Regions from separate parts of the Homo sapiens genome. Here regions 2, 3 and 4 are each linked to region 1. The links are contacts of gene promoters, found by promoter capture Hi-C in human tissues and cell types (Jung and others, 2019). All regions are on one chromosome and are shown on one strand. Each heading gives the region's core, a stretch centred on a gene start or on the middle of the fragment in contact. The rest is flanking DNA. Distances are from core to core; before and after follow the strand shown. Region 1 holds the start of RELN (reelin). Region 2 overlaps RELN (reelin). Region 3 overlaps ORC5 (origin recognition complex subunit 5). Region 4 overlaps RELN (reelin).

What was found. Contacts are between HindIII fragments. The study calls those that stand out against the background at their distance.
Region 2: a fragment that was not itself captured here is called in contact with the fragment with the promoter of RELN in region 1 in 1 of the 25 tissues and cell types used here (mesendoderm cells).
Region 3: a contact is called between a fragment that was not itself captured here and the fragment with the promoter of RELN in region 1, in 2 of the 25 tissues and cell types used here (liver and thymus).
Region 4: a contact is called between a fragment that was not itself captured here and the fragment with the promoter of RELN in region 1, in 4 of the 25 tissues and cell types used here (IMR-90 fibroblasts, heart left ventricle, mesendoderm cells and 1 more).

Annotation. Positions count from the first base shown.
Region 1 is chr7:103,984,632-103,991,051 of GRCh38, reverse strand. It overlaps RELN (reelin), which reads left to right and starts at 1,394. Exons shown (of 65, transcript NM_005045.4): 1 at 1,394-1,921. The coding sequence starts at 1,696. The HindIII fragment of the contact is 8,012 bases long and covers 1-3,705 here.
Region 2 is chr7:103,800,243-103,806,452 of GRCh38, reverse strand. The region is part of intron 3 of RELN (reelin); the gene reads left to right. Among named protein-coding and RNA genes, the nearest start is that of RELN, 190 kb to the left of the region's middle. The HindIII fragment of the contact is 5,714 bases long and covers 1-5,442 here.
Region 3 is chr7:104,120,390-104,126,529 of GRCh38, reverse strand. ORC5 (origin recognition complex subunit 5) reads left to right here. Exons shown (of 14, transcript NM_002553.4): 14 at 1-189. Among named protein-coding and RNA genes, the nearest start is that of ORC5, 85 kb to the left of the region's middle. RefSeq lists a silencer at 1,098-1,261. The HindIII fragment of the contact is 3,735 bases long and covers 2,810-6,140 here.
Region 4 is chr7:103,759,470-103,766,067 of GRCh38, reverse strand. All of the region lies in intron 4 of RELN (reelin), which reads left to right. Among named protein-coding and RNA genes, the nearest start is that of RELN, 230 kb to the left of the region's middle. The HindIII fragment of the contact is 4,227 bases long and covers 2,188-6,414 here.

The sequences.
Region 1 (6,420 bases), core at 145-2,644:
TATATATATGCACATACATATATGTATACACTGTATATTATTTATATGGCAGTTAAGCCTCTGGGGATTTTGAAGTAAGGGAAACAAGAAGCCAGCTAGAAATGGGCCCTTTCTACCTGTCATTCGGTCTCAGTAAGAGGAAGAAAAACAATTTCTTCCTTTTGCAACGAAGTGATTACAGAGGTCTCCCCTTGGACCCTGATTTTCACCGCCCCTCGCCCCACAAATGCAGGCAAAGGCACTATCCCTTCCAATTTTATAATCTACTCATTTCTGTACGTGCGGGTTTATCTGGCTTGGTGGCAAGCCAAGGGTGGGTGGGGAGAGGCATTAAAACCTGGCAACCCCGCTCCCCCATCTCCGGATGCCGCAGGGCTCCTGCCAGCCGTCCTCGGTTAAAAACGTGCTTATGGATTATTTCACTTCCCTGCAGTTCATGTGCAGCCGCTCATTACCACCCGCTTCAATCACCGCTGCCAGCATCTCCCCTGAACGTTTTTCCCTCCCCCGATTTCAGGGCCATTGGTCATAACCGACATTTAAAGGAAATAAACACTGATTTAAAAAATTACAACACCCATCTCTGCCTGAAGAGCCCAGAAGCAATGAATAACAGAACAGTCCGGCGAAGAGAGCCTGTCGGATCTTAGCTCCGCCAGCCCTTCCTGCCTTACAATTCCCCACAACCGAGCAGCACAAATCACCATTTCCAGGCACCACTCGAGTCTGCCAATTCCACTTTCGCTTAATCTCATTTTAAAATCCTCTACAGATGAGGCTCTGTCGCTGCCGCGAGGGGCCGGGCGGCCGCGGCGGGAGGGACAGGGGGCCTGGGTGGGAAGGGAGCGCGAGGGCCCCTAGCGGTTCGCGGCCTCGGGCGGATTCCCAGAACGAGTGCGGGCCGCCCGGACTGGCAGACTGCGAGCCCCGAGGGGCGCGGGACGCAGCCGGCTCAGACAAAGAAACCGGCGCCAGCGGCCGTCCCTGCCGCCCCTCTCCTTCCCTCACGCATCCTCCCAGGAAAAACAGGGCACACTGACGGCCAAAGGGGCTGGCCTTCCCCTTCAGACAGCTGGACGGGAGGTGCCCTCTGCGGGGCTTTGACGTCCCTCGCAGAAGAGTCGCGGGCTCAGCGGTCCTCGACAGCGTCCCCGTCCCGCTCCCCGGCGGGCGCCCCTCCCTGTCCTCCCGGGTGCGAACCGGGCGCTGGCCGGGGACTCCGGGGACGCGTGCGCCCCTCGCCGCGCGAGGTGCCGCCGAGCCAGCCCGAGAGGGCGGGGGGCGGGCGGGGCGGCGCGCGGGGGCGGGGGAGCGGCCGGGACACGTGTGGCGGCGGCGGGGGGGACGCGGCGCCCGGGGCTTTAAGAAGGTGTGGAGCGGGGCGGGCGCTTTCCCAGGCCTGGCCGAGGGGCGTCGCGCAGAGGCGGCGGCGGCGCACGGAGGCGGCAGACGACGCGCTCTCGGCGCCCGCAGCCCCGGTCCCGCGCTCCCGCGGCCCAAAGTAACTTTGGGAGCCGCCGTCTCCCGCGGAACTTCTCGGCGGGGGCCCGCTCCCAGGCCCGCTCCCGAGCCCGTTCCGCTCCCGTCCGCCTTCTTCTCGCCTTCTCTCCGCGTGGCTCCTCCGTCCCGGCGTCTCCAAAACTGAATGAGCGAGCGGCGCGTAGGGCGCGCGGCGGCGGCGGCGGCGGCGGCGGCATGGAGCGCAGTGGCTGGGCCCGGCAGACTTTCCTCCTAGCGCTGTTGCTGGGGGCGACGCTGAGGGCGCGCGCGGCGGCTGGCTATTACCCCCGCTTTTCGCCCTTCTTTTTCCTGTGCACCCACCACGGGGAGCTGGAAGGGGATGGGGAGCAGGGCGAGGTGCTCATTTCCCTGCATATTGCGGGCAACCCCACCTACTACGTTCCGGGACAAGAATACCATGGTAGGTACCGCAGCACCTCCGCGCTCGCCGCCGCCGGGTGCGCCCGCCAGCGCACCTTTCTCATCCCTTTCCTTCTTCCAAGGGGCCTTGGAAACAAGAACCATGACAACCCTGGCCCCAGCGATGCGCTTGGTCCAGGGAGCGAGAATAAAGTTAGTGGAGAATGGAGTCACAAGTTGGGATTCATTCTCCATGTCCCCACTCCCCGAACGCATCTCCTGGTAATGAGCTGGTGCTTGTGCTAAACGCCTGAGAATTCTTGGAGGCCGGTGTCTTTCCCCCTCACTCCCCGTACTTACCGCAGGCACTTTAAATTGAACCTGCGCATTTTGTTTCTTTACTCCTAGGACTTGGATTTCAGACCTTTGTCCTGCTCCCGGTCCCCCCAGATGGGTCCCCGGGGGGGCGTTGGGGGCTGTCGCTGGGCTTTGCGGGCAGGCTGGTGACAGATTGAAGCGCCCAGGTCTGTGGCTGCCCCGCGCCGCTCGACCGCAAAGTTCCCGCTGCTCACCAGCCAGGAGTCCCTGGCATTTCATTCAGTGTCATACAGCCCTCCTGAAAGGGAGCGGCTGCTTCCAGCTCCCTATTCTTTTGAAAGTGTGATTTAATATGTCAGTAATTGATGATTTTTCTGATTCCTGCCTTACTTTTACATGGTGCTTCTTGTTAGAATTATCTTTGTGATGTTTATTAATGACTTTGTATTTTATCTGCACAGCTTTAATTTCCAGGTAGAGGCTGGAATCCCTTATAATTTAGAGGTATCTTAAAAATGGAATCATTATGCAGCCCTGCATCAAAAATAAACATTACAGAAGAAATAAAATTTAGCTCCAAGAAATATAATATTATGTAGTACATGTATTTTAAGCTAGTACATCGAGTATGTGGAAAAATAAAAAATGTCTCTTTTCTGTATTTCTTCTGGGACTTCTGAACATTTCATGCCTATAGAGCTTTTAAGCAGCGACAGGCACTATTTAATTAGAATTTCAACCCCAAAATATTTATACCCAACCAAATAGAAACCATTGTCCAGTAGGCTCCTGTTAATAGTTTCTATCTCTAATAGGCTAACAATCATTGGCATGGCGGGAGATAATCTACGGGGTGCTAGCACTTAAGATAGACAAGCATTTAAAAATTGTAAGAATCCTTAAGATTTTTCTGTTTTTAAAAAAACCTTGATATCTATTATAAAATATTTAGCCTAAATAAACGTCTCCTAGAGGTTTTAAACAGTGCTTTTACAACTTCCTTGTGGCATGGTGGCAGCCTTGTCTGTAAAGCAGAAGTTTAATTTGGTGGAATTTTAGAAATAATTTTGGAAAATTAATGTTCTGTAACTAGTCCCTTTTTAGATAAAAGTGCTTACTACGCCCTCTTCCCAAGAACAATCTAGTGCTTTTCTGAGATAATGAGAATCTTTAAGTGGAAGGAGCAGCTACTGTGATGGCAACCAGACCTAACCCAAAGCCTGATTGACAGCCTGCTGCTCCGTGCGACTCTTAGCAAAAGTTCTTGCCCGGTATGATCTCTCAGTGAGAACGGTGGGTAAGTGAGTGAGGCTGGTCTCAAAGGCGTGACTGTCAGGTTATGATGGAAGACCATGTGATGATACAAAGCTTTATTATTATTTTTTCTGTTTTCCACATCCTTTGGAAGGTCTCGATATTGAAAACTTAACTAAAAACACCAAAATATCATACACCCTTTGGTTTTGCTCCCTTGCACCCTTGAATAGCAAATGCAAGTCACCTTAAGACTCACCATAATCACATATCTAAGTCTGAAAAGGAATGGATAACATAGAGTAGAAATAAAGTGTAAATACTTCAAGTTGGACATTGCGGAGGAGAATCTCAATTTCCACCTCTTTTCCACCACCAGAAAAGGTAGAGAAATTGTATTATGTAAGTTATGAAAGGTCAAATTATTATAAGCTTTGAGAATTGTGTCAGATTTTAAATTTCTGTTATCTATTTTATTAAACATTTAGATTTTGGAACTAGCTGTAGCTATAGGCCTTAAAGTAAGAGTTTTTTTTTTTTTTTTTGTAAAATGTTCTACAGGTAGAATACATGTTTAAAAATGAAGTGATGCTTATGTATGTCTCTTTTCCTTTTAGGCTTTTGAAAATTAATTTAAAAAATTCAGACACACACACACACACACACACACACACACACACACACACACAGCTTCTGTTAGAATTGAACTGCCAATAGGAAAACTTAATCTCATGTACTTTTGTGGTTGGCCCATTTTGATATGTGACCAAAATGAAAGGTCTTTTGCCCAAGAAGTCTTCTTAAACTTACAAGAAATGTGTAAAATGTTAGCTTGAGACTTTATTTCTAACCTTCTGGATCTTTAAAGTGTAACAGTTATATCAGAAAAAATCAGTCACATTTATGATTTACATTGAAGTCACCATTTGAATGAACCATGTTTAGGTGTAGAGCTGATAGTTGTGACTTTTTTTTTTTTTTTTTTTTTTTACCTAAAAGAATGCATTGAGATAGAGGTGGTGTGCACAATAGCACCTAACATAGAACATTTCTGTAGATCAGTCAGCTGCCCTCTGACACTGGGGTGTGTGGCAGAGCTCAGAATGTAAAATGGGGCAGCAATTGCCAGTCTAGAATAAAAGTGGTTCACAATTATAGGTCCCTGTATGTGTCGTATTTAAATATATCTATGGAATATCTTTAACAAAAATAAAAAATATATAGTACTAAAAAATCTGGAGCTTTCGAGTCTAACAGAATTGTCACAGATTTTTACATTAAGTAGTATATCCATCTATTTTCAGTACTGGCAACTCTATAAATAGTGCATGGTTACATCTGGTGTGTTCTCATCTCTCAATTAAATGTCATTTGGTATCTCTTTCTCATCTTCATATATCTTTTAAATTATGTTATCTCTGACTCTTTTGAAAGGGCATTATTAGTCACAATGAACCATGAGTATACCACAATGTAGAAGCTCAGCGAAAGGAGGTCTCTATACATCATGTTGAATTAGAAAGGTCTCAGGGTCAGAACATTTTTTTTTTCCTAGAATTTCCTTTTTTTTTGCACAAATCCTAAGACATGGTCAGTTTCCGCAATGTGCGTTTCGGGCACCAAACCTGGAATTTTTTGTTTTGTTTTGTTTTGTGTGGTAGAAAGTTGCAAATGATGGGGAAATAGGAAACAAGAACCTACATGGTTTAGTCAGGTAGCCATTTCTGTTTTCCAGCCATGCCCCGTAATCAGCACACCTTCTCCTAGGGACAAAGGCAGTATTGTGAAAAGTGTGATGGTTGGATTGAAGTCTGCACCTTTCCTCACCCATGGTCGTTCCTTTTCCTCACCCCCAGCCATCAGGTATCTACCATCCATTTTGTTTGCCACTCCTCGCCTTGCCCCCAATCAATTTATGGTGAATGTGACTTGTCAGTGTTAAACTTTCCCACATTTTTTATTGTAATTGTAGAAAGATGTCTTTCCCCTCTTTGCTTAAAGTAAGTTTAGCATCACTGAACAGCCAGATAATAGATATGGGGATAGAAAGACTTGGATGCCCCTGAAATCATGTCAGTAAGGAACTGCCCCTCACAAGGTTGGCTTTATTCAGTCCCCATCAAAAAGGAGAGGTCAGCCATTAGAAGAAGACATTGTGCATGAAAGACAAGCGTTAAGTAAATGAGTCTACCCAAAATACTTGAGCTTTGGTGAGACAATGTACCTAAATTTCTGAATGGACTAGAATTTCTGTTACTATGGTAGCATAAGATGGGGGAAGTGTTCCATTAACAATGAGAAGTATGCTCTAAAATATCAACTGAGAGAAAAAAATTTGGCCTTGAGTAGAATTGAATTGGTGATGTGGCATGATGTTTTAAAAGGGGGATTTTACTGTATTTTGTAAGTCCGGCATCACTATTGGTAATTTTTTCATGCTGTATATCTACTCCCACTTTAAAAAAAAATTATACTGTGAGACAGACAGGAAAATCAATGTTCTATTCCTAAAACTAAACATTTACTTAAAAGAAAGGTATAATCAGGATAGAGTATTGAGGGCACTTTATTTTGACAATTTCCAGTATTACTGTTAAAGGCACACGTGTTCTGAAATTAACTGGTTGCTATTTAAAAATTCTTGTTCAAAGGAAGTGCAATTTAATGACCTTTCAAATACCAGATGATATTTATGTCAGACGTAATTTTTGGAAATATATTCCAGATTTAATTCCTTTCAAAGGAATGATTTTATTATTTGAAATAAAGTAATTTGCCATTACTAAAGTAACTGCATTGCTGATCAGGTGATCGGTTATTTATCCTTCATATGTCTGATTCTGGAATCAGTGTATTTAAACTTTCAAAATCATTTGTCAAATGCAATTTATAAGTGAACTGAAGCTGCGTCCTGCTTATATAGGACTATGAAAATTGGGCATTTTAGAGCATTTTGCTCTATTTGTTACATATTTATCTTACTCTCTA
Region 2 (6,210 bases), core at 1,336-3,835, 190 kb after region 1:
CTTGGGAGGCTGAGGCAGGAGAATTGCTTGAACCCAGGAGGTGGAGGTTGCAGTGAGCTGAGATCACGCCATTGCATTCCATTCTGGGTGACAGAGCGAGACTCTGTCTAAAAAAAAAGAAAAAAGAAAGAAAGTGCTTAGAGGGAGTTCCATTCCCCCTCAATAGCAAGGATAATGATTATTTTCACAACTGGACTAAGCTGAAGTCCCTCTCCCCAATAATTATAAATAGATATAACAGTCATCTGGTGTTTAGCTCAGACGTTAGTGAAATGTTTGGCTCTTTTTCTCTTCTTGATTACATATGGTAGTATTATGCCCTTGTCACCTGAAAAATTAAGCATGACTATTTTAGATTTCTCTAAAAATACATACTATATTTTCCTTACCAATGCGTAGAGCATTTTTTCCAAGATAGGTAAAAACTCCTTGCAATTGTAAAAGCTTGACTTCTCCTTACTTATCAACTCAAAATTCATGTTTTCTTCCACATATTTTCTCTTTTGTGTGAAAAAAAAATTCTATGGACCATAGTGAGTCAATGCTCCTTCCCCATGGAATAGCTGTTAAGAAAGGCTCTTGGGATGGCAATCACTGTCCTCTCTAGCCCCTCCTTGTTATTCAGCATTCTTCTAGACTCCTCTGTGTCTGTATTCTGCATGTCCCTTAAGGAAAAGCCAACAATTTGGCTTATACTTCATTTTAAAAATGACTAAGGGACCAATTGTAGCACATTTTGATAAGTAAAAAGAGCCTGTGACCCAGCAAAATGTGAACAATCTTGCACATCTCCAAGATTAAGTGAGCACCAGGCCAAGTCTAAGAGAAGAATCTTCAGATTACAATCCAGTTAGAAGGAAATTGGCTGGAGGATTCAGGAGGATTTGTGAGGGGGTGGACCCACTCATGTCTCTGACACACACTTTGGCATGTTGTTTTAAGTATTTAGACCAGAGGACTAGAACATTGAAAACAGAGTTCAAATTTTAATGACAGTTTTACAAATCTGAAAGTTGGCAACACATATAGTTGTCAGTTATATGATTTTATGCATGGATGTGCCACACATATGTACTCATTTCACATGCACGTTCGTATATCTAAAGTTGGTTAGAAAGACTTTTGGGAAATTAGATTTTAATTCTCTACATGTATTTTGTCTTTTACTGTTTACAAAGCACTTTCACATCTGTTGCCTTATTTGGTACTCACAGTAGCATCCTGTGAGATAGGCAAGCAGCTATCATTCCCATTTCACAGATGAAGAATCTGGTGCTTAGACAGGTTATACCATTTACCCAAGTTCACTCAGCCAGATTGTTAGTGGCAAAATCAAGAGCAGAATCCAGTTTTCTTGACATTGAGTTGTTTTTTTTTTCCACTCAACCTGAGGGAATATATATTATATACCTGATTATATATAATGCATATGTAATAGATATTAGATACCCGATTAGATATTAAATTATTTCATGAAACGCAAGTCCCTGCTAGACCTCCTGATGAGCAACAATTGCAAGTTACTCATCCATGATAATTTGTTTACTTCCCCACATTAAAACTATCATTAAAACTATGCTGGCTGGATGTGATATCTAGCAAAAGAAAAATGGAGAGAAAATACATTGCAAAAAGCCACTCCTCACTGAATAATGTGGGCACGCTGTTTTCTAACCTATTTTTGCAACTAATATTTAAGATTAAGGAGTTTGATTTGTTACAAGAAGTAACCTATTACTATTTTCTACATTATTTCTTAGTGATAACATGCATTAGTTTATTAGATCTGTCTGAAAGATCTTGTTTCTTATTCCTTATAAATAATTTGTGGATACCCAGCCAGTGCAGAATCAGATTTGGTGTTACTACGCATTATTTATGACCATATTTCTTTAAACATATTCTAACCTGGAAGCTGTGTGTAGATTTTCCATTTACATAGCTAATATATGCATTGTCGCTGCCACACAGTAAGAAATGCTTACCTGACAGGCTGTGAACCTGCATAGTATAACAGGCATTATTCCGAATTTGTCAGACATTCAGAGCATAAATGATGGGTTTCTCTTCATACCACTATTTAGTGCCGTTTTATTTGAAATAGAAAAAATTTCCAGCAACTTCAGACAACATTTGGGATTTATCCTCATTAATATTTTGGCTTTGTTATCAATCATGCAGGTATGTTAGACATAATTTAGAATAATTCTTATATGTACTTGAAATAACCTTACTTTTAACCCCAAACTGAATCAACTTTTTAAAAATTTTCCATAAACAAATGCAAGATAGAAAGATTAAAGATATGAATAATTTAAAAATATTGCAATGGTAGGAATTTTTTCCCTCTGCAAGATGAGGAAATGCCTAGATGTGATAAAGACTCTGTCTCTCTGAGCAGTACTGAAGGTGAAGCTAATTACATGATGGAGATTTTCTTTCCAATGACACGTCATTTGAAGATCTTAAACACAGAACTCAAAGATTCTCAGTGGTTTTTATGGCCTTGAGATATTTTTAGGTGCATTTTCCACCCTTTATAAAAATTTCCACCTTTAAAAATATCTAGTGAACCCCAGTTTCTAAAGCATTTCCTGTAACTGCATCTGTTGCTAGGAGAGGAGCAGAAGAAAAATGACAGACTCCTAAGAGCTGTAACCTTGCCAGTTGCTGTTATCCTGGAAATGTGGTAGTCAAGGTTGTCATCAAGAGTCTTATAATGATCTTTACCCATTATAATTTGCAGGAGTGCCTGAAAAACTGTATAAGCCTCTAAGTTCCTTCTACCCTTAGAAGCTGAGTATATAATTTCAATCTCTAAGCAACTTGATAACAAGGTTTACTGGGTATTTATCCCCCATAGAGTATAACATAAAGTCTTAGAAAGTGCCAAAGAGTATTTATTTAATCAACCATTGGACAACCAGGTAGTCATGGAGTTAGTGTCATAATTTGCAATTATCATCACTCCAGCCAGGTGTCTTTTATTGAATACTGTGCTAATTGTCCAATCTCTGACTTCTTAAAGTTTATTATATAAGGAAAGAACACTGAGTATATTAAAGATATCTAGCATATAAAGAAGCATTAAGCAAAGTCAATGAATTAAGAGTTAAGATGTATTTAAAATTACTAAATATATAAAGGTGTTTTAATCATCATCACTGTGAGTACATTAGTGTGAACAAAAGATTAATGTCTTTAGTGAAATGGCAAGTGAAGACGCAGCAATCGTAAATGCATTTATAAAGTAAGTTTGAGTAGGAGTAAAGGTGGAGTATTTTAGTCTTGCAATCATTAAGCTGGACAGGGTTTTAGGGGAAGAAAGGAGCTTATTCTTGGCCCACAAAACAGACTCAACACTGTGGCTTTCATGTATCTATGTGGGTGATTCTATTTTGACCCAAATGTAAATTCACTTTGAAATAGGGCCTGGGAATGTTCATCCTACATATTGATTGGAGAAATGAAAATAATATTACGGTGTTATATTACTTTGTAAAACAAATGCTGTTGATTTACTTCATGTGAAAAAGTTGCTGGCATTCTTAAAGCAGTTTTATATTGTGATGGTGGTGATTAGGAGGTTTTGTTTTTGTTTCAGCCAGTAATACAAGCATTGCAGGAATTCTTATATCTACATTTTATGTGAAAGGAACACTTTTTAAATCCCTTCTTGGATATTTCAGATGTAGTTATATATCTATCCCTAAAGCCAATCTGTGCCTTTAAATGAAGCCCGTACTCTGATTTCATAAGGAGACTTGCAATTTTATTGGTACTTAGAAGTCTAGTTTATTTTCTTAGGGATTTAATGCACAGTGCTAATATTATCTTTTGCTACTAAACAAGATGCTTCTCAAAATTTCACATTTGGGTATCTTGAATTTGTGTGACTTCTACAGCACTTTTATGTTTAAATTAATTTAAATTCTGGTGAATCTTGGTCTACGAGTAAATCTAATATATAAAAACCCAAGTCCACCAAAAAAGGCCAATTAGGGCATTGTGATTTGTTTTACAGTAATAATCCTTTTAACTGTGTACTTAATATTTAAATGTCCTAATACACCTTTTCAGTAACATACATATTACATCATATGAAGCAAATATCAGTTGACTTTGATTTATTTAGTCATGTCTTAATTCTACTTTGGCATTGAAAATGATAAACTTTAGCACTTGATCATTTTTCTTTTTCCCTCTAAAAAGTTTTGCAAGACCCTGTGACTAAATTTTGAGGGCTATAAGATTGTTTAATTTATTTTCTCCTGAATTTGTGAAACTTACTGATCTTTCATCTTGCTCTTACTTTCGTTCTCTTATTTTCATGTTCAAACAACCTTCTGACCAAGAGGAAACCTGGTTTGTATTTATTTTGTTTCTCATTAATTCAGTAATTCAAGAAATATATACTGACACTTAACTATGTGCCACGAATTATGCCAAGCCCCAGAAATATGTAAATACGTACCAGTGCATTAGTAAACAAGTAGAAGTTGTCCCTGCCCTCACAGAACTTGTATTACTACTACTGCTACTGCTAGTACTACTAATTACTACTATATTAAATCAAAATTATTATTGTGGCTAACACATACTGAGAACTTACTATGTGCCAGGATAAGTGTTTTGTGTGGATAAATTCTTTAAACCTTCACCATTACCCTATGAGGTGGGTACTATCATTAGTGGGGCACAGAGAGGTTGTCACTTTTTTTTTTTTATACTTTAAGTTCTAGGGTACATGTGCACAACGTGCAGGCTCGTTACATAGGTATATATGTGCCATGCTGGCCCGCTGCATCCATCAACCCATCATTTACATTAGGTATTTCTCCCAGTGCTATCCCTCTCCCTGCCCCCCACCCCACAACAGGCCCCAGTGTGTGATGTTCCCCACCCTGTGTTCATGTGTTCTCATTGTTGAGTTTCCACCTATGAGTGAGAACATGCAGTGTTTAGTTTTCTGTCCTTGTGATAGTTTGCTGAGAATGATGGTTTCCATTTTCATCCATGTCCCTGCAAACGACATGAACTCATCCTTTTTATGTCTGCATAGTATTCCATGGTGTATATGTGCCACATTTTCTTTATCCAGTCTATCATTGATGGACATGTGGGTTGGTTCCAAGTCTTTGCTATTGTGAATAGTGCCACAATAAACATATGTGTGCATGTGTCTTTAAAGTAGCATGATTTATAATCCTTTGGGTATATACCCAGTAATGGGATGGCTGGGTCAAATGGTATTTCTAGATCTAGATCCTTGAGGAATCGTCACACTGTCTTCCACAATGGTTGAACTAGTTTACAGTCCCACCAACAGTGTAATAGCATTCCTATTTCTCCACCTCCTCTCCAGCATCTCTTGTTTCCTGACTTTTTAGTGACCACCATTCTAACTGGTGTAAGATGGTATCTCATTGTGGTTTTGATTTGCATTTCTCTGATGGCCAGTGATAATGAGCATTTTTTCATGTGTCTTTTGGCTGCATAAATGTCTTCTTTTGAGATGTGTCTGTTCATACCCTTTGCCCACTTTTTCATCAGGTTGTTTGCTTTTTTCTTGTAAATTTGTTTAAGTTCTTTGTAGATTCTGTATATTAGCCCTTTGTCAGATGAGTAGATTGCAAAAATTTTCTCCCATTCTGTAGGTTGCCTGTTCATTCTGATGGTAGTTTCTTTTGCTGTGCAGAAGCTCTTCACTTTAATTAGATCCCATTTGTCAATTTTGGCTTTTGTTGCCATTGCTTTTGGTGTTTTAGACATGAAGTCCTTGCCCATGCCTATGTCCTGAATTGTATTGCCTAGGTTTTCTTCTAGGGTTTTTATGGTTTTAGGTCTTACATTTAAGTCTTTAATCCATCTTGAATTAATTTTTGTATAAGGTGTAAGGAAGGGATCCAGTTTCAGCTTTCTATATATGACTAGCCAGTTTTCCCAGCACCATTTATTAAATAGGGAATCCTTTCCCCATATCTTGTTTTTGTCAGGTTTGTCAAAGATCAGATGGTTGTAGATGTGTGGTGTTACTTCTGAGGTATTTTATTCTCTTTGTAGCAATTGTGAATGGGAGTTCACTCATGATTTGGCTCTCTGTTTGTCTGTTATTGGTGTATAAGAATGCTTTGATTTTTGCACATTGATTTTGTATCCTGAGACTTTGCTGAAGTTGCTTATCAGCTGAAGGAGATTTTGGGCTGAGAC
Region 3 (6,140 bases), core at 3,428-5,927, 130 kb before region 1:
CATTTTGCTCTGTGAACTATCCCCTGCGCTTTGAACGTGCCAGCAGCCCTTGTTTATATGCCCATTCTTTTCACTTCCTCTCCACAGGAGCCTCTGCAGTCGCTTGCCAAAGCAGATTTTCCTAAGGCCACTGTTTTAAAAGATCATAGTTGCAAAATATAATAAATACAAGTTCTTTTTAAAATCCAAGCTTGTGTGTATTTATCTTTTCACTTGCTTTTCTCAAAAGGCAAGGTAGTTTGATCAGAAACAGACCAACTTTCCCTCTTTCAGCCTACTTGATAACTGTGGTATGCTTGTATAAGGTTTATCTGGTCACTTTCTTAAAATTAGCTACCCAACCCAGTTTTTTTTTTTTTTATCAGTATCATGGTTTTATTTTCTTTCTTTCTCTTTTTTAAAATCACTGGCCTTTAAGAGTTCCACAATAATTTTTTTTCCTGTTATATCACTTGTGAACTTTGGTTTTGATTTTCTTGTCCATATTTTTGAAGAAATTTTCTTTTAGCATTTGAATGCTTGAAAATTATTTTAAGCAGACTTAAAGTTCTTAGTTATAGAACCTAGTGTAAATTTCAGTGGCATTTTATTTCTTCATTTTTTTTGAAGAAAAATTCTCACGATAGGCACTTTTAGTGTAACTATCTGGTTCAAAGAAAGCAAGTAATTATCTACTATTTAGAGGTAATGAGTTAGGGAGAAAAGGAATGGAATTCCTTTCGCCTCCCTACATAAATAAGACAGACTTTCTTGCCTGAAGATTGACATCCACAGCAAGTGATAGAGCATCCCCACTGTAAATCTCTTGTCCCACAGAAAATGAAGTTTGTGTTTCACAAGATGTTTGGAGATGCCAGGGTCAGAGAAAAGCCATGCGTAGTGTGGATTCTGGCTTAGTTTCCAGCATGTAGAAATCCATGTCATCAAGCTGTAGAAAACAATTTGGGTAGCTGATTGAAGGAAGAGCAACACCACCTAGGATAGCTTTCAGCCCCTCATATTTGTTTTGCAGATGCATGTCTGCTGTGCAGCCTGTCACGGATAAGCGGAACCAGTCTGTATTTTGAGGGAAGAACTCTGGGATATCAGGAGGGGAGAAATTATCAAATAGGAAACTGGAGAGAAGGATGGAAAGGAGGTGAAGTTTCCTATAAGTGACTGTCCATGCATCCTCACAGCTGGTCACCTGTCTCCTGCCCGGTGCATTTCCTCTCCTGTACTGCCCCACCTTGTTACCAGCCCCAGATGTGGCTTCCCGGCATAACACTAACCAGATTTTCCCTGCCCCTGACTGGGTCATCAGAACTTTCCTGTTTTGTAATTTACTTTCTAATGGCTTGCTAAATGACTCAGCAGCTAATTTGATTAATTTATTTAGATGAATACTAACAGAGCTTAATATGGATGTTGGCATTTTAACAAGGGTCATCTGCAAGTGGAATTCTCTAATTGGAAGATATGAATCTCCAATTACAGGAGGGAATCCAATAATGAGAATTAGGCTGGCCGGCGGGCCAGAAATTTCTGTTAAGAGGAGGCACTTAAATTATACTCAGCATCTACTCTACCTAGGTGTAAAAGTAATTTAGGTGGTAGCAGAAGAAAGTTACTAAGCTGTAGGTTTTTAGACTATACATAGGTGGTCCTCCATTTTACAAATGTCTTCTTTCAATTACCGTGAGCCAGGTATACATAGGTGGAGACCTTACTCCCTCTTCCCTCTTACTTTCAAGTCATTTTCAAGCCCATTTCAAGCTTTCGTTGATGCAGCAATTCCTTTCAACAACTCTGGAAGAGATTGTGATCTACCAAGCCTCATCTCATTAGTCATAAAGGGGTCAAAGTCTTGATACCAAGATAGCAGTTGAGACTCCAGGCTCTGGAATCCTTGGATCAAATACCAGCTGTATTGCTACTGGCTGTCTGGCCTTAGGCAAGTTATTTAATGTGTCTCTGTGACTTTCTCACCTGTATAGTGGAAAGTAGAATTTACTTCGTAGCATTTTTACAGGATTAAATAAATGAATATATCTAAGGCAGTAGTTCTCAACTAGGGACATTTTGCCCGCCGGCAAACGTAGTCATTTCTGGAGACAGTTTTGGTTGTCACAACTGGGTGTGGGGAGGGTAAAGGCCAGGGATGCTGCTAAATACAGTAGTCCCCACTTACCCATGATACTGCTTTCCTTGAGTTCAGTTACTGTCCGTCATCCTCAGACTGTGGTCTGAAAATATTAAATGGAAAACACCAGAAATACAGTAGTCCCCACTTACCCATGATACTGCTTTCCTTGAGTTCAGTTACTGTCCGTCATCCTCAGACTGTGGTCTGAAAATATTAAATGGAAAACACCAGAAATACAGTAGTCCCCACTTACCCATGATACTGCTTTCCTTGAGTTCAGTTACTGTCTGTCATCCTCAGACTGTGGTCTGAAAATATTAAATGGAAAACACCAGAAATAAACAGCTCATAAGTTTTAAACTGCATGCTTTTCTGAGTAGTGTGACGAACTCTCATGCTGTCCCGCCTAGGATGTGAATCATCCCTTTGCCCAGCCTGTCCATGCTGTCCATACTACCCACCGGTGAGTTGCTTAGTAGTTGTCTAGGTTATCAGATTGACTCTTGCAGTATCTCAGGGCTTGCATTCAAGTAACTCTTATTTTACTTAATGGCCCCAAAGTGCAAGAGTAGTCATGCTGGCAATTTGGATATGTCAAAGAGAAGCTGTAAAGTGCTTCCTTTAAGTGAAAAGGTGTAAGTTCTCAATAAGGAAAGAAAAACATCATATGCTGAAGTTGCTAAGAATGTGGTAAGAATGAATCTTCTATCTGTGAAATTGTAAAGAAGAAAAAAAATTCATGCTAGTTTTGCTGTTGTACCTCAAACTGCAAGAGTTGTGGCCACAGTGCATGATAAGTGCTTAGTTAAGATGGAAAAGGCAGAAGATGTGAACCGAAATGTGTTCAAATTATGGTAATCAGGTTCAGGACTGTTAGAGGGTTTAGCCATCCACTGGAGGTCTTGGAACTTATTGCCCCTGTGGATAAAGGGGGACTACTGTATACTAAAATTAATATCCTATAACAGAATAATCTGACCCTCAAATGTCACTTGTGCAGAGGTTGAGAAACCCTGATCTAAGTAAGGTACCTGGCACAGAGTAATTGTTCAATAAAGCTATTATTATCCTGAAATGTGTCTTTGTGGGCTAGAAAGGAGGTAAATGAGGGAATGTGACATTCTTACTAGAAAGAGGCACATCCCTTTTTTACTGTAATCTTACCTCATACCTAGAAAAATTATTTCTTGTTTAAATTTTGGAGTTACTCAAATGGAAACAATACCTTGGATTTTAATTTTTAAAATTGAAGTGTTATCTACTGGGTTCCAATCCGTACACAGATTTCATTACTTATTTTTCAATATCCTGTGGGATAGGTCAAAATTATAGCTGAGAATTATCAAATCAGAGAGCAGGTGACTGAGGACTTACATTTTTTTCCCTCAAGGTGTACTGGCTGAACAATTAGTGGTATACCTCCAACAGATTTAGTTAACCAACAACTGATTAATGTAATTAAGATGGTCTGGAGCATGAAAAACTCAGACTGTAAGAAGCCCACTCAGTCTCTCCAAAGTATGCATCACTCTGCTTGTACATTCCAAAGAAAAGTCAGGGACCAAGTCCAGGAATAATGCATCTCCTATCACATTAAGTACTCAATAAGTATCAAAAATAGCAGATGAAATTCAGAAACTGTCTCATGTGTAATAGTGTCCTCCATTGCTACCTGAATTCTCACACTATTGTGTACTATAATTGTTTGCATTTTGTGCCTTTAGCCATAGGCAGAAGCTTGGATTGGAGTTAATTTGACCAGAGGTTGATATTATTCAGCTTCATCTCCTACATTTAGAAAGCTTCATCTACTACAAAGTGTGGCTGCCTAACATGTGAATAGTTTAGATAATTTCGCATGTAATTTCACTCTGCTATCACACTTTGCTTTCAAAAATGCTTAGTAGAGCTCAACAAAATCTTTCCTATAAAGATAACAACATTTCACTCAAGTTTGTCATTAAATGCCCTGAATACACAGTTAATGTTCATTTTCCAGCAGTGGCACACATTCATGAGACACAGTATGAGAAGTAGAAATTTGGTAGAGCAGAGAAAATTATAATCAATTCATTCATAACTGCATGTTGATGCACAGTAATGATGGGAATTTTAGAAAGCATTCAACTGTTCGAGTAAATAGTCGTAGCTTTGGCATGTTGGAAAGAGCCTGGGTTTTAGAGGATTGGAGATTTGCTTGGGTTTTAGATAAACCGTAATCCATTTCATTTTTCTTTCAAGGAGTTGAGGGTTCGATTTAATGGCGGTTTCCCTAAAAGTGTTTAATTCAACAGATTCTAAATACTAGTTATGTGCCAGGCATTGTGTTAGGTGAATGGGATACATGAGTTATACAGAATGAGAGAGTTTCTGGCCTGGATAATAGGTACTACCAGCATTGGTAGAGTCATTCTCTGAAATAGAAAATCTTGGGGGAGGACTAGGCCTGTAGGGGTGGAGAAGATTATGAGTTCAGTTGCCATTAAAGTGCTTGTGAGAAATCCAAGTGGAAATGTGAAACAGGTAGTTGGATCTAGACTGGAGATCAGAGTTGCTGCAAGTATAAATGTAGGCATCATGAGGATAGAGATGGTTATTTGGTGATTTGGAGGTCTTAATTCTTACAGTAGTATCCATCACATGGTGAGGGAGAAACCATGTTGAAGTGAGTTTAGGAAAATATATAGAAAGTGATCATCACCATTGTTTGTCAAGAACTACAAGTTGTATTTTTTTTCAAATAACAGTTCTCCACTGTTCGTATAACCCTGATTCTCCTCAGCAAGTGAAGTGGCAGTAACGAGACATGGCTAGATCTTATTTAGTATCTAGCTCAGGAAGGAAAAATCAAACCCTCTTAGAGTCTTAATTCTATGGAGAATGTTAGATCACATGGGCTTTCTATGTGCTCTCTCTACTTCCTCATGGCATGGTGACTAGGTTCTAACGCAAGCATCCCAAGAGAAACAGCAGATGCTGCATGGCCTTTTCTAACCTAGCCTCAGAAGTCACAGAGCATCACTTTTGTACCATTCTGTTTGTTGAGGCAGGGATAAAGGCCTGCCTATACTTAACAGGAAGGGAATTAGACCCACTTGATATTAAAGAACTTGGAGACAGGCTTTAAATCACCACACAGAACATAGTAGGCTGAAAATAATACTATGGGATGCAGACGGAATATATTTTATGTCATCTCAAAATTTGAATTGGTATGGCAGAGACTGCTTATTGTCCATGCCTATGCTTCCCCCAAGTATCTTGCCTATCTGCTTCCAAAACACAGGAACTCTGACTGCAAGAAGGCCAATGTGATCAGAACACAGGAAACAAGGGTAATTGTGGTAGTAGATGGGATCAGAAGTGATTGGGGGCCAGGTGGTGTGTGGTCTTACAGGTCATTGAAAGACTTTGGTTCTTATTCTGTGTGAGTTAAGAAGCACTGGATACAAAATCAATGTGCAAAAATCACAAGCATTCTTATACACCAATAACAGACAAACAGAGAGCCAAGTCATGAGTGAACTCCCATTCACAATTGCTTCAGAGAGAATAAAATACCTAGGAATCCAACTTACAAGGGATGTGAAGGACCTCTTCAAGGAGAACTACAAACCACTGCTCAATGAAATAAAAGAGGATACAAACAAATGGAAGAACATTCCATGCTCTTGGGTAGGAAGAATCAATATTGTGAAAATGGCCATACTGCCCAAGGTAATTTATAGATTCAATGCCATCCCCATCAAGCTACCAATGACTTTCTTCACAGAATTGGAAAAAACTACTTTAAAGTTCATATGGAACCAAAAAAGAGCCCGCATTGCCAAGTCAATCCTAAGCCAAAAGAACAAAGGCATCACACTACCTGACTTCAAACTATACTACAAGGCTACAATAACCAAAACAGCATGGTACTGGTACCAAAACAGAGATATAGATCAATGGAACAGAACAGAGCCTTCAGAAATAATGCCGCATATCTATAACCATCTGATCTTTGACAAACCTGACA
Region 4 (6,598 bases), core at 3,052-5,551, 230 kb after region 1:
GAAAGTATCCTTAAGTGATCTGAAGACAAGCAGATTAAGGGGAATGACAAAGAGCTGATTCACATGACCATAGTAAAATTTCTTGCTACTGACTCTGGAGGTGGGTCTGATTATTCTTTTAATTTCCTAAAGAATGGTGTTTTGGACTGGTGCTGTTTATCCCAAGATGATTGAACATAGATTTAAACAGCCTTCTTTTTCAGTGCTGAGGGCTATATACATTCCCACTTGACAGCTTTATCTAGTCCAAAGTCAAAATTCCTAGATTTATGCCCAAGAAGGATTTTACATTGAGTTATTTTGGGTGCCTATGGAAGAATTCTTTCTACACATGCTGCTATATAACCTGCTTGATTCCTCCATATTTTGAAGGACAAAGACCAAGTTTGGATCTATACAATCACTTGGGGAAGGAGGGCAAAGCTGTTACAAACATACATAATTCACAATTTTGTTTGACTTGTGAAATATTATTTCATCCAGTTTATTAATCCAACATTATTTTTAATGTACGTGTGAAAATTCAGTTGTTTCATGTAACAATTAATATAGATTTTTTATAATCAAGTTTTTAAGAGTTGTAATTCATTGGTATTAATTAATATATATTGTGCTGTATCCCCAGTGGGCATATGTGAAACACTGCACCAGACCCCAGGCAAGGTGTGTGGCAACATAAGGCAGTCTCCCATCCCATTGTTAAGAAGCTTATAGTACAGGTTTACTAATGCAAACCCAGAAGAGAAGGACCAAGACACATTTGCAGAAAAATGTAAACTTAGTGGAATGGTGTTCCTCTCATCTCCTCTGAGCCCTTGCTCCAATTGTGCTTTCTCTTTCTGATAGCTTCAATGTCTTCCGCTTCAGTGGCCACCTCCTCCTCTGTGCTTAAATATGCTGAAGCCACTGCTACTTTAACAAGTATTTCATCCTGAACTTCGGGTACCCCCGGCCATGTTTCCTTCTTACAGTCCAGCTTCTTGAAAGAGCAGTGTGTGTCGCCAGGCTTTCGTCCTAACCCTGCCATCTGGCCTCTACCGCCAGCACTCCCTGGAAACCATCATCCTCAAGGTCACCAATAACCCACTAGGGTGCCAACTAATCCAGAGGACTCGGATCCTCACCCTACCTGACTTCTCTTTTCTTTCTCGGTTTCCCTAATGAGTTGTTCTTCCCACATCACACATTCTAGGGTTGGGCTTCTTTTTGCACTTTTTTTTTTTTTTTTTTTTTGAGAGGAGTCTCACTCTTGTCACCAGGCTGGAGTGCAGTGGTGCGATCTCGGCTTACTGCAAACTCCGCCTCCCAGGTTCAAGCAATTCTCCTACCTCAGCCTCCCGAGTAGTTGGGACTACAGGCATGCACCACCATGCCCAGCTAATTTTTGTATTTTTAGTAGAGATGGGGTTTCACCATGTTGGCCAGGATGGTCTCAATCTCTTGATCTCATGATCCACTCGCCTCAGCCTCCCAAAGTGCTGGGATTCCAGGCATGAGCCACCATGCCTGGCCTTCTTTTTGTGCTTTTATATTGTCCCTGTTGAACTCACTCACACCTATAATTTTCATCTCCCTAGCTCTCCACTTCCTTGGTGCTTATACAAAGAGTCAAGAAGGTAAAATGATTGTGAGCATGAAGTTTGCAGTTACCTATACTCTGAGTTAGAATTTCTGCTCTGGCACTTTCTAGCCATGAAATCTTTGAGTCTCAATTCTCTCATCTGTAAAATAGGGAAAGGGATAGTATCAACCTTTTTGGCCACTGCATACCATTCCCAAGAGCCTGGTACAATATTTTGTGCCCAGAAGGAACATCATAAGGTTGTGAGGATTAAATGTCGTGATGAAGTGCATAGCATAGTGGCTAGCACATACTCCGTAGATGTTAGCTCTCACTACTATTACTAAACACTACATTTGGGTGTCATTTAGGCACCTTGAACTCAATATATTCTAAACTGAACTTTAGTCCGTCCCAAATCTGTACCCCTCTATTGCAGTTCTGGTTAGCATCTTCATCATCACCCCAGTCACTAAACAGAGACCTAGGTAACACATTTCTTTGCTTATTCCTTGTGGTCATCCATGTCTATATCCAGTGTGTCTAAGGCCAATTTACACAATGTCTCTTAAACCAACCCCTTTCTTTCCATGCCCACTGCCATTTTTTTTTATTCAGGCCTTTCACACATTGATCAAAATGCTCCTGGCCTCAAACCCTATAACTGCCCTCTGTTTCCCCCCAGTTCAGCCTGGATTTCAGGACTTCCCTGATCTGTCCCACCTCTCTCTCTCTCCAACGTCATCTCCACATTTAGATCTTTCCACACCCATCACCCTCACCTGACACCAGACTCTTTATTTCAGCTGGAATAAGTATGTCCTTCATCAGAGATGCCATCCTGACCCTATCACTGTAGCTCATATATGCCAACTCCTTTCCCTGGTGTACTTTCCTCCATACCTCCTCTGCTGTCTAACTGATGAAGTTGCGCTCATCCTTAAAGATCCAGTTCAAGTGTCTCCTCCTATATCATCTTTATTTTTATCACTCTCCCACCTTATATTTGCTAACTGAATTTAGTTTACCATATTGTATGTAATGCATTGACTTCTAAATGTATTTTATACTACACTTTGGATCCCTTGATCCAGAAGAGACTGGATCATTTTTACATTCCCAGAACTTGGCACAGTACCTGACACTTAGCAGGCACTCAAATATTAGTTTAGGAAATGAATGAACCATATAAAGCAAGGACACTTTTCCAAAAATGCCGAATTACTCTTATTTCTTTAATTGCCAGCCAGTCTGTACCTCCCATGTCCCCAGAAGTGCTTTTATATCTGTATTTAGGCATTGTGCACTCTTTTTTCATTGATGAACTTTACTAGGAGTAGCCTAACAAAACTCAGAGTTGGTTACATGGTATTTGAGATGATGTTTGCTTTATTGCTCACTGTCCTGTATGAGAAACTACAGAAGAAACTTCTATACAGTCTGTGTACCTGCAATAACTGTCCTTCTCCTGAATAATATGTGTTCTTTTAAAGTTATGAACTCTTCTATTTCTGTAACTTTATGGCTTGAGAACCAAATTGAAGTCCTGGGGGCATGCATCTTGCATACATATCTCAAAATGGCATGTATTATTTTTCTACCCTCGTTTGTCATCTTTGATTCCCCCCTTTATTATCTTGTTCAGCTGTCTGCCTTTTTTTGTAAGCTGCCTTAAATCTATCTTAGAGCAAGACAGATTATACAATTCATCCTTAGGTATGTAAAGGAAAGTGAAAAGAAATATGAAGAAAAGTGAAGGAAGAAGATGACATATGTACAAGCAATAAGGAAGAAAAGGAACAGAGGAGATGATTAGAATTTTCTAACAACAATGGTTTTAGTAATATTGGCTTGCTGATGTTATCAGAATCCATTCAGCTAGCATTTTTGGAACTGCCATGTGTGAGACATTGTGCTCAGCATTGGGAATGCAGAGATATTCAAGATAGAGTCTCTCTACTCACAGGAATTTGCAGTTGGATCAGCTCTAATTGCTACTGTGGCCTTTAAGATTATGACTGAGATAAAGAGAAGAAACTTTTCCCCAAAAGGGACCCTTTCCTCACCCATGGGAAATTAACTATTGTAGTTAGAGTGTCAATTAAGCTTCTATGTACTTGAGGTACTAAGCAAAGTACTTCAACATGTGGGTGGGTTAAATGACTAGAAGTTTATTTCTTAGTCATAAACCAGTTTGAAGATAGATGGTCTAGGGCTGGCAGGGTCGTTCTACTGTGCACAGCAAGTAGCTTCCAAATCTAGGCGCCAAGCTGGCTGCTCCAGCACTCACCACCTCCTACAGCAGGGAGGGGAAAGGGCCAAGGAAGCATGCCCATTCCTTTAGGACATCACCCAGCCCTGAAAGTGACCCTAGTCACTTCTGCTCACCTCATATGGGCAGAACTTAATTCCTTTGTCACAGGAAGCTATAGGGGGGCGCTGAGAAATAAAGAAATAAAGAAAAGAAGAATAGACATTGGAAAATCTCTAGCAATTTCTGTTGATGTTAGCAACAAGGTTTCTTCCTTCTCCTCCACTTCTTCCTCTTCCTTCTTCCTCTTTTGAGCCTAGTGATTTTCCTTCCAACCTCTAAATGTTACTTAAAAGCCATATGTTCTCAGGTTTTGGGTCAATTTATACCTGCAATTTCTCACATCTGCTCCATCTATGAACTTCATCTCTTCAAGTTCTCAAAGGTCTAGGATTTTTAAAAGTTGCTACACAGTAACAATTTTTTAAAAATTAAAATTTGGCCAGGCATGGTGGCTCACGCCTGTAATCCCAGCACTTTGGGAGGCTGAGGCGGGTGGATTGCTTGAGCCCAGGAGTTCAAGACCAGCCTGGGCAATGTGGTAAGATCTTGTCTCTACCCCCCCCCAAAAAAAAATTTACTGGTCTTGGTGCTGTATGCCTGTAGTCCCAGCTTCTTGGGAGGCTGAGGCAGGAGGATCATTTAAGCCTAGGAGGTTGAGATTGCAGTGAGCCAAGATGCACCACTGCACTCTAGCATGGCCAAGAGAGCGAGACACTCTCTCAAAATATAAATAAATATAAAAATAAAAATGTACCAACAATTCAAATGATATTGTTTTGCATTCTGATTTTTCACTTAAAACTTGTATTTATATTGTAAGCAAATTTTTGAAAAATGTGTGGATATCTCCCCAGAAAAGATGGTGACATGAGCATGGTAAGACAATGAGCCATAATTTTTAATGTTTGAGGCCCCATTATTTATAGCTCCTATTGGAATAAATCTTATCTGAAAGAGTTCTCTATCTCCTAGTTGCAGGTTATAAAGATATATTTTCATTTTGTTCCTATTTCGTTTATATTAGAATATGAAAGATGATAAATTGTTTTGAGACATAAATCAAGTTGAGGTGGAAAATCAGAGAGGGAAGAGAAAAATAATTCCTAATATTGCTGGTTCTGTGTATAATTTAGCTGTCTTTAAATATTAAGAAATCTTTTATACTGAGCATAAGTATGTTCTTGAACACAGGGAGAACTGTTTTCACTCTAAATTTATAACATTTTTGGAAGCTTAATTATCATACTTGAAGGTCAAATGGTGCTTTATTGCAATAAAATACAAAAAGTAATAAATTATTCCTGGGGAGATGAAAGTCTAGGTTCATAGCTCATTAAATGCTAACTTCAGAGCCCATGTCTAATTTGTCATATTTAGCTTTGGAAGTTTAATACATTTGAATTTCAAATTAGGTGAAGAGATACCTGAGGCAAAACTACCTAGGGCCTTTGAATTCCAAAATGATTCAGGAGATATAGTCCCTGTAACATAATACCTGTATTTGTAAGAATTGCTTGCCACCTACATATAATTCTTGTCTGACTCAAAGGCTTTTTTTTTTAAGTAATCAATAATATTAGCTCAAAGCTCATTTACCACCTCCTGAATTCATTTTCAGGCATCTTTTCCTTTTTCTGCTCCACATATTTAAGTCTCCATTCTTTGCACTGAGTAATTTGTTCAACAAGTTGGCTGAAGTGTATTAGTGCTGCTATATTTTGGAGTCAGATGATTACTTTAAAATTTCCATCCAAAATAAGTCAGTTGAAAGAAAAAAACACATATGTCAAGAAAATAACCTTTGGGGGAATTAAACACGACCTCATTCTTTCTAATATGCCTACTTCAGGCTGCTGTGATCTATGAGATTCTGGCAGGCTCAACTTTTGAAAGAGCATATGCACAGAAATGCTTTTTAAGAAATGAAGCTTTTTTTTTTAACTTTTAGCATGTGATTTGTCTCCTGGACAAACTGAATTGATGATGGGAGGAATTTAGGCTTCAATTTAATATTGAGATACTATCTAAGGATCCATGTTTATAATATTTATTTTGAAAGGCCCAATAGTTTAACCTATTAAAATGTTATTAAGAAAAGCATTCGTGTATGACAGGCATTCAGTGAATATTAATTGAATGCAGTAATTCAAATAAAGAAATGCTAAGATGTAAAAAAAAAAAAAAAAAAAAAAAAAAAAAAAAGTATGACTGTGAGCACCAATGACCGAATGTAGTCACAGAAGCTAATGTGGAGATATTTGCTGCCTATTTTAGTTTGCAGAAATGTTCTAACTTTCATTTCTGCCTGCAAAGCTCAGCTGGTGCTAATGCAAGAGAAACTGTCGTAAGGATAAACCACTCATTATAATCTGTGAGATGCTGTAAATAATTGGAGGTAATTTTGGAGACAAAAGTATATTTAGTAAATTAAAGGTAATGTTCACAAAGTAAGTCTGTCTAATGACAAGCAATACATTAGTTGCACTTTAAAGTTTAAAAAGTGAGTAAAAAGTGGTTCTTCTCATACCGCGATGAAGGCCATATTAATTCACACTGAGTGAAAATAGTGACTTTTTAAAAATAATTTTTCACCTTTCCCAAAGATATTTCTTGGGAAAAAAGCTGCAACTCTTCTGACTAGAACTATCACCAACACAGAGACATGTTAACATATACGAGCTAAGAGCTTTCCATCATTTATTCAAAAAAGCATCAGTATGCAC